2 separate regions of the Homo sapiens genome follow, and region 1 is linked to region 2. Evidence: promoter capture Hi-C in 16 types of primary human blood cells and fetal thymus (Javierre and others, 2016). All regions are on one chromosome and are shown on one strand. The core of a region is centred on a gene start or on the middle of the fragment in contact, and the rest is flanking DNA. Distances in the headings are between cores, read along the strand shown.

Evidence for each region. Contacts are between HindIII fragments. The CHiCAGO score rates a contact against its expected background, and 5 or more counts as called.
Region 1: a contact is called between a fragment that was not itself captured here and the fragment with the promoter of LINCMD1 in region 2, in 2 of 17 cell types (naive CD4 T cells and non-activated CD4 T cells). The highest score is 5.2, in naive CD4 T cells.

Annotation. Positions count from the first base shown.
Region 1 is chr6:52,637,804-52,642,649 of GRCh38, forward strand. No RefSeq gene overlaps it. Among named protein-coding and RNA genes, the nearest start is that of TMEM14A, 31 kb to the right of the region's middle. The HindIII fragment of the contact is 789 bases long and covers 3,182-3,970 here.
Region 2 is chr6:52,148,106-52,152,962 of GRCh38, forward strand. LINCMD1 (long intergenic non-protein coding RNA, muscle differentiation 1) reads right to left here and starts at 2,918. Exons shown (of 3, transcript NR_131248.1): 1 at 2,777-2,918. It overlaps MIR133B (microRNA 133b), which reads left to right and starts at 818; the gene lies at 818-936. RefSeq lists an enhancer at 4,746-4,857. The HindIII fragment of the contact is 4,773 bases long and covers 1-3,329 here.

The sequences.
Region 1 (4,846 bases), core at 2,326-4,825, 490 kb after region 2:
TTTGAGTAATCACTTGCTAGCTTCAGTTATTGGTAATAAATTGCTTAAGACATAGGTCCCAACAGTTCCCTACATGTTTGTGAGCCAAGAATGATTGAATGTTCACTTTCTAATGAAAGGCCTTTCTTCTCCCCTTGACAGGTCTCATGATTTGGTAGCATTTTCTTGCCTTCTCAGGGATTTCAATGGAATATCAGAATTTGACTCATTGAGATCTATTGAATAAATTTGGTCATTTTTAAATATCAGCGGGGCGTCATCTTTTAGGGCTTTTCCACTAGTAAACATTGCCTTTTAGAAGAAGATACCCAGGACTAATTATTTATTCTAAAATAATCTCAATATTTTTGCTATTTCACCAAGCAAAGAATTACAGCGATAGTTTATACTAATACTTCTCTGCATCATGTTTTAGAAGATAAATGAATAGAGAGAACGAGGCAGATTTAGGTTAGAATACTGTTTTTACCAATTGTTTTCTATGTGACTCTGAATAAGTTTCTTTTCTTTTGTTTTTCTTTCTTTTTTTTTTCTTTTTTTTTGAGATGGAGTTTCACTCTTGCTGCCCAGGCTGGAGTGCAATGGTGCGATCCCAGCTCACCGCAACCTCTGCCTCCCAGGCTCAAGTGATTCTACTGCCTCAGCCTCCTGAGTAGCTGGGATTACAGGCATGTGCCACCATGGCCGGCTAGTTTTGTATTTTTAGTAGAGGCGGGGTTTCTCCATGTTGGTCAGGCTGGTCTTGAACTCCCAATCTCAGGTGATCTGCCCGCCTCGGCCTCCCAAAGTGCTAGTATGTCCAGAATTGGTTCCTTCAGGTGGGTTCTTGGTCTCGCTGACTTCAAGAATGAAGCCGCGGACCCTCGCCGTGAGTCTTACAGTTCTTAAAGATGGTGTGTCCGAAATTTGTTCGTTCAGATGTTCAGATGTGTCCGGAGTTTTTTCCTTCTGGTGGGTTCGTGACTTCAGGAGTGAAGCCACAGACCTTCGCAGTGAGTGTTACAGCTTTTAAAGGTAGTGCGGACCCAAAGAGTGAGCAGCAGCAAGATTTATTGTGAAGACCAAAAGAACAAAACTTTCACAGTGTCGAAGGGGACCTGAGTGGGTTGCCGCTGCTGGCTCGGGTGTCCAGCTTTTATTCCCTTATTTGGCCCCACCCATGTCCTGCTGAATGGTCCACTTTACAGAGCGCTGGTTGGTCCACTTTTTTTTTTTTTTGAAACAGAGTCTCGCTCTGTTGCCCAGGCTGGAGTGCAGTGGCACGATCTCAGCTCACTGCAAGCTCCGCCTCCTAGGTTCACGCCATTCTCCTGCCTCAGCCTCCCAAGTAGCTGGGACTACAGGCGCCTGCCACCACGTCCGGCTATTTTTTTTAATATTTTTAGTAGAGACGGGGTTTCACCGTGTTGCCAGGATGGTCTCGATCTCCTGACCTCATGATCCGCCCACTTGGGGCATTTTACAGAGTGCTGATTGGTGTGTTTACAAACCTTTAGCTACACAGAAAAGTTCTCCACGTCCCCACCCCACCCAGAAGCCCAGCCAGCTTCACCTCTCACTGGGACTATAGGCATGACTACTGTGCATGGCCATGAATAAGTTTCTTAATCTTTCTGACCCTCAGTTTCCACATCGATAGGCATAAGAATACCTATCTCAAAGTGTCATAAAAAGGATTAAATACTGTCTGTGAAAATGTCTCATGTCTGTAATCCCAGCACTTTGGGATGCCAAGTCTGGAGGATCCTTTGAGGCCAGGAGTTCAAGAGCAGCCTGGGCAACTGTCTCTACCAAGAAAAAAAAAAAATTAGCTGGGCGTGGTGATCCACCTGTAGTCCCAGCTGCGTGGGAGGCTGAGGCAGGAGGATCACTTGAGCCTAGGAGTTGTAGGCTGCAATGAGCTATGATTGCATCACAGCACTCCAGGCTGGGTGACAGAGGGAGACCTGTCTCAAAAAACAAAAAACAAAAACAAACAAACAAAAAACAGAAAAAAAGAAAATGTCTTGGTATATGCCAGGAACTTAGTAAATAGTACTACCTTCTCTTAACTCCTTAACAGAAGGTAAGAATGAAGAACATTCCTTCCTCTGTATTTCAGAAGTAGGTACACTCTTTGGGGGAATTTATACAAGTCCAATTTGAACTCTTTTACAGGTGAGGTTGGGAAGGATGGGTCAAGGTAGGTGGGGATGGGTGAGGGGTGAGATATCCTTACCTTTTATCTCCCTAGAACATCATGAATATTTTATAACTACTAATGATGAAAATATTGTTTGTACTCTCTATTTTTCTCTGTGAAAGGGTGTTTGGAAAGTCATTTCTTGTTGTTATGTTTGGTTTCTAGTGCTCCCTGGGAAGCACTGATCTTGGATTTGGCTGCTGTGTGGGAGACCAGTGTTCCTCTTAGCTGATGGTGGAGACTCACGTCAGTGCAGGCTGCAGCGATGACTCTCAAACTGTGAACAATGCTCCCCAGTGTGTGCACGGGAGGGCCAGCATATGGAGACCTCGCGGAGAGCCAAACGCGGGCTCTCTGCACTTCCTTCAGTTTTGTTTAAATACAGGATCCGGTTTGCCTTTGTCACCCGCTGTAGCACCACCAGGCTTCATTCACTGTGAAGCCTTGCCAGATCTCTGTAATAAATTACCTGGGAGGCCAAGGCGGGAAAAGAGGAAAGAACAAGGTAAAGCGCTTTGAAATCTGACTTTCTCCCTGGAGTGTTCAGTGTTGCCTATTTAGAAGGTGCAGGGTTGTGCTAAGGTGTGTGCTGGGAGCTTTGTAGGCTAAAGTTTGTAGAAAAAGTTTGGTTCATTTCAGTCATCACTTACAAATTTTTTCTATTAAGTGTTTAAGATTTCCAAACTTAAAAAAAAAAAAAAACAGGTTCAGAGTATTTTTAAAAAGGCATTGGTCATTTGTACAGCTTACATTTCACTAAATCTTTACAACAATTTTGAGAGGTAGGTAATACTAGTATCCCTCATTTTATACTGAGGAAACTAAGGCTCAAAGAGGCTCAATGCTTGTCTGGTATCATATAGTCAGTAAGGAATAAAACCAAATCTTGAACCCTGGCTTCCTGGCTCTGTGTCTTTTCCTAGCAGACTGACCATCAAGGCTGGACATCCCTTTCAGTTCTTTTGAGAACAGACTAGTTGGCTAGATGTGAAGAAAACAAGCTTTGGAGTAATCTTCCCTCTGCACAGCCTGTGATATTGGGATCCAGTGAGTGACGGTGAGAGGTGGAGATGTATGAACGAGACCTGAGACGTTGGACCTGAACATCACAGCAATCACTTGCAGGGCTAAGATTCAGGGCCAGCTGTCCATGGATTCTCCCGAGTTGGATCGTCTTTCACACACCTGCTTCCTGAGGTTACATCTCTTTTCCAGCCTAGGAGCAACCAATAAAGAGCAGAGAGCAAAGAAAAGCAGACACACAAATCATCTCTAGACTATGTCAAGGGTATCCCCAAAATGGGAAAGAAATTCATGAATGTACACACAAAATGTCACGTATTTTTGTTTTACATTAAAAACACTGTGTCCCAGAAGTAAGGAGTAGAATGGTGGTTGCCAGGAGCTGAGGGGTTGGGGACATGGAGATGCTGGTCAAAGGGTACAAAATTTCAATATGCAGAATGAATGAGTTCTGGAGAGCTAATGTACAGCATGGTGACCATAGGTAATCATGTGGTATTATATTGTGACATTTGCTGAGAGTAGGTTTCAAATGGTCTCACCACAAAAAGGAAAATGGTAACCATGTGAGGTGATGTTTATGCTAATTAGCTTGATTGTGGTAATCATTTCACAACATGTATGTATATCAAAACATCTCATTGTACACCTAAATATATACAATTTGATTTGTCAATTGTACATCAATAAAGCTGGAAAAATGTATTCAATCCTATATAATAGATTGGGAAATTACATAGCCATATCTGATTATGAATTCAGCAAAGCTTTTAAATATGTTTTTATTTTACTATTCACAAGAGCACCTTGGTGCATTTGAAATTAAATCCTTCAATGTGGAGAAAACAAAACACTGTCTCACTGAGCACAAAGCTTGTTCAATATTTTTGTCAGCGCGATGTATTTTTGTTAGCAATGTTGACCACTGAAATGATTTCCTTAGCAGATAATTTTCCAGTAAACCTCCCACATCATTGCAAACTTCCTGTTCCCAGCTGCTCTTCCTCTTCTTAAGCCCCTCATTATAGGCAGTAGGAGAGCTGATAATCAGCAGAAAATTAAGCTGGCAGGGTGTGTGCTTAAAGGCGTCAATTTCCAAGGGAAGGAAGTGTTCATTTTGTTTTGTTTTATTTTGTTTTTATGAAGCATTGCTTTTTACTTGTGTTGTGCCTTTTGAACTTAAGCATTATTTTTTGACAATGGAGACTTTTGGTTTAGTGCAGTTCTCTGTAACTGGACAGTACTCAATAGAAATTGTTGAATTGAATGTTTAACATATGCTTCTCTTTGACCAAATAAGGAATATTTTATGGGCCATTTTTCATTTTAGATGAGCTTATAGGAATAGGCACTCTTTGGAAATTGGAGAAATTAATTCTTAGGGAGTGTAGTCCAAGTTTAATTCTGGGTCTTTGAGTGATACTTTTAAAACAAGTGCCTTTGACCCTTGATTAAGTACAAAATAAGCACATAGCTAATGTAAACCTCTTAAATCAGTGGTTATCAGGCTTGGCTGCACAGTGGAATAACCTCAAGTGGGATGTGTGGGAGAATTAAAAAAAAATACTGCTGCCCGGGTCTCAGACTCAGAAATCCTTATGTAATTGGTCTAATCTACAGCCTGTCTTCAGGGTTTTTAAA
Region 2 (4,857 bases), core at 1,668-4,167:
TTTAAAAGGTAGATCGTTGGGCCAGGCGTGATGGCTCACGGCTAAAATCCCAGCACTTTGAGAGGCTGAGATGGGTGGATCACCTGAGGTCAGGGGTTTGAGACCAGCCTGGCCAACATGGCAAAACCCCATTTCTACTCAAAATACAAAAATAGCGGGACATGGTGGCAGGTGTCTGTAATTCCAGCTACTCAGGAGTTTGAGGCAGGAGAATCACTTGAAACAGGAGGCAGAGGTTGCAGTGAGCTGAGATAGCGCCACTGCACTCCAGCCTGGGTGACAGAGTGAGACTCCATCTCAAAAAAGTAACAACAAAAAAAAGTAGATCGTTGTTCATGGGTATTGGTTTTACCATTATGTACCATCACTTATATATTATAAATATTCTTTTATAAATATATCATACTTGAATTAAAAACATAATTTAAAGAAATTAAAATGTTAAGCATTCAAAGAATATATGCCAAAATGTTACATTTCTTTCGGAAAATGGGAAGAGGAAGCATTATGGCATACTGTCATTTTTCATATTCTATAATTCTATAGCATATTTGATCTTCATGATGTTTCTATTTGAAAAAAGATTAAAGATTAAAGAAAAAATAAATTGAAGTCATGCAACATGAAATACAAATTATGTATGATTTGTATGTACAAATTGTATGAGATGTATGTACAAATCATGTAAGAGGACATTCTGGACAAGGCAAGCTCCTGGCATTTGACAGATGCTAATGCTGCTTCTTTTTGCATTACAGGCTTAGACAAATGATGCTTGAGACACACCAAGATACCTGCACACTAGAGGCTGCAGTCACCTCAGAAGAAAGATGCCCCCTGCTCTGGCTGGTCAAACGGAACCAAGTCCGTCTTCCTGAGAGGTTTGGTCCCCTTCAACCAGCTACAGCAGGGCTGGCAATGCCCAGTCCTTGGAGAAACAGAAGAGATTCAACTGCAACTGAAATTACCTACTAAAACTTTCCTTGAGAAAACAATTCTGGTTTTTTCACCATATTCTTATGCTCCCAGGAAGGAAGAGAAGAGGAGTCCTGGAGTCAAAAGTGAGCAAGATTTTAATGCTCAACACACACTGTTCTGTGCCTTTGCACTCACAGCTGCAGCCACTTACATGCTTTTGACAGACACACAGTCAAGAAAGAGTTTGAGGATGGAGTTTGTGCCAACCCTAAGCCAGCCAGGGGAAGAGCATGAGACATAGAAGACAGGGCTCCTGCTCACTAGGGGCTAACAGTCTAAGGAAAGAAATTAGACATGTATATATGGTGTGATCCAATTGAATTGCAAGTTATAGCATGGCTAGTTCCAAGGCATAATTCTTACCTATCCCACCAAATATGCCTAGCACATTATGTATCATCAAGTCTCTATTGATCTATTCAGCCCAAGATATCTATTCACTAAGCAATCATTTCTCAGTTCCCTGATCTGTAGAATAGGGATAATAGTACCTGTCACACCAGGCACAGTGGCTTATGCCTAAAATCTCAGCATTTGGGGTGGCTAAGACAGGGGATTGCTTGAGGCCAGGAGTTCCAGATCAGCCTGGTCAACATAGCAAGATGCTGTTTCTACCAAAAAAAAATTTTTTTTGTTTTAATTAGCTGAATGCGGTAGTGCACACCTATAGTCCTAGCTACTTGGGAGGCTGAGGCAGGAAGATCACTTAAGTCCAGGAGATGGAGGCTGTAATGAGCTAAGTTCTCATAATCGCTACCTTTTACTAAGGGAGAATTCTGACCTGTCCTTCCAGTTTATCTTTTAAGATTTGTATCTTTTATGGTGTGTGTCTGGAACTTAGACAGTAATAAGTAAATATTTGGGTTTAAAATTCTATAGACATGTGTGTTCACATGCTGTATTCTGACACAAATGGGGTAGCATAAGTGCCTAGAGCCCACCACAGTGACCTCAGAGGAGAACACAGAGCTTACTAGCACAAATCTTTGCATTCAGGAAGACCTGGGGTTGAATGCTGCCCCTCTAATTTATTAGCTGTGATATATCCTCTCCGCAGCTCAATTAACATTGCACAAGCCTTAGTTTACTCATCTGTAAAATGGGGACAATGATACCAACCTCAGTTACCGTAAGGCTTAAAACAGACAGTGTTAATAAAGAGCCAAATATAAGCCCTTAAGAAATAGTAGCTGTTGTTTTACTGCTGTAAATGGCAACAGCACAAGGACAATGCTGTGTCCACAGGCACTTGTATGTAGAAGGAAAGAGCCAAATTAAAAAAAAAATAGGAGAAGAACTCAAAAAATACATAAAGGCTCATTGCTCACTGTAGGGTTTTGTTTTTTGTTGTTGTTGTTTTGTTTTTGTTTTTGTTTATTTTTTGAGACAGGGTCTCACTCTGTTGCCCAGATAGGAGTGCAGTGGCACGATTTCAGCTCACTGCAACCTCCGCCTCCCAGGCTCAAGCGATTCTCCTGCCTCAGCCTCCCAAGCAGCTGAGATTACAGGCACGCACCACTACCACCCGACTAAGTTTTATATTTTTAGTAGAGACAGGGTTTCACCATGTTGGCCAGGCTGGTCTTGAACTCCTGACCTCAAGTGATCCGCCCGCCTTGGCCTCCCAAAGTGCTGGGATTACAAATGTGAGCCACCGTGCCCAGCCTATAGGGTATTTTTATATTCCAACTATTAATTCTACTAGCATGTAGCATACATGCATTCACCCTAGTACATATGACTAGCATATAATATGCTTTACTTTTAAAAAATGCTTTATACATGAGACTGATCTTACCATCTTCAATATCCTGTCTGGAAAGCCTTCATTTGTGAGTGCTGTTGAGATCACATGTCCTCCCAAGTAGGACATGGAGTGTGAAGGCCATTGAGTGGGTGTTCCAAAGGGCAGCACAGAATGGAGTTTAGTTGAAGGTGCTGGGGACACACTACCTGGGCTCAAGTCCCAGCTCCCCACTCTCCAGCTGTGCCACTTGAGCAAGTTGCTTGACCTCTCCAGGCCTGGGTTTCCTCATCTGTAAAGTAGGAATATTGATAATAATATCTACTTCATAGAGTTTCATGAGAATACATGTAAAGGCCTGAAACCAGTATTGGGTACATAATAATACATTCTTAAGAGTCTTTATTTCTGACAATGTACCTGAAATGTTCCTGAAATTAAGTTGGTGTTCAATAAAAACATGTTCACTGAAAGATCAGCTTCTTTGTTTATTTTAAGCACAAACTATGGGATCATGTAATTTTTGGTTCAACTATTTCTACTTATCTCTTTCAATGCAGCACACTGGTTCAAAGCAGTAGTAAGGTGTGGGGGAAGGATGGCAACAAGCTTCTCTCTGCTTCCCAGGTCTGTGATGAAATGGAACTTCCCTGCGAACTAGGGGTATGCCTCTGGGAGTAGAAGCAGGGTGATCTTGAAGCGCAGTCGCAGAGCTGTCACCCGGAAGTCACCTGGCAGAACAGAAAACAAACATGATGTGGCCAAATACCAGCTGTCCTTAACAGGAGGGATCTTTTCCATCTGGAAGGGCAGAGGTCATGTAGGTAAAGATTAGATAACAATGCCAGGTATAGGTAAAAGGAGTGTTAAAAAAGGGTCACTTTCATATTTGGGATATTATGGCTAAAATGCCTGATAAAACTGGACAAGACATATAAGGCTAAGACTAAATAATGTCTTCTCTCTGTTAGAAAGAAGCCAGCCAGGCCAGGCATGAGGGTTCTTGTCTATAAATCCCAGCACTTTGGGAGGCCAACGCTGGCGGATCTCTTGAGCTCAGGAGTTCAAGACCAGCCTGAGCAAAACTCCATCTCTACAAAAAATACCAAAAATTAGCTGGGCACAGGGATGGGGACGCTGAGGTGGGAGGATCGCTTGAGCCCAGGAGTTTGATTGAGGCTGCAGTGAGCTGCGATGGCACCACTGCACTCCAGCCTGGGTGACAGAGTGAGACCCTGTCTCAAAAACAAAAGAAAAAAAAAGAAGGAAAGAAGAGGGAGGGAGGTAGAGAGGGAGGGAAGGAGTGAGAGAGGGAGGGAAGGAAGGAAGGAAGTTAAGAAGGGAGAGAGGGAGGGAGGGAGAGAAAGAAGGTAAAGGAAAGGAAGGAAGGAGAGAGAAAGGAATAAAGAAAAAGAAAAGGAGAGGAGGGGAGGAGAGGGAAGGGGAGCAAGCTAGCACACTTCTGGCAAGGGTTGGAGAACATGAGTGAACATTGTCATCCAACTTTCTACCTATCCCCTTGCCCTCAAGGGTCTTTGCAGAACACATCTTTGAGGGCCACAGGATGGAAGGAGTTCTAGTCATAGCCTGCCTCCAAAGTCAAAATATCGTACTGTCCCCTCTTATTCACTCCTGGAGAATTCAACTTCCATTCACATTTCTGTTTGATTTTCCTTAAACCAGGAGGGGAGCAAATGTATTCCTGCTCCCACTCACCACTATAAAAAGACAGAACCTTTAAGAAAACATGTTTTCTGGTAAGTTTGAATGACCTTGATATCCATGTTCAAAGGTCCCACAAGCCCAAACTCTCCATTTCCGTAAGAAATCAAGAGGAATCAGAGAATGGGGACTGCTGCCCACGGGTTGCGGTTGCTCATCCTGCCACAGCCCCTCTTCAGGGCAGAAATCTAGGTTAGGCCACCCAGTGGGGTGTGTGGTTTTGTGATTGCTGCTGTGTCCCTTTATGTGTGTTCCTGTATCATCATCAGTCCTGTGCCAGTAAGTGGCAGCCCATGATGTCACACCGGTCAAACATGACGACTCTTGGTCACCCTCAGAATGGACCCCACCCCCACATCTGGTGAGTGTTGGGAGGAAGAAAGTGATAGCACAGGCGTGCTGAAGGAGCTCTT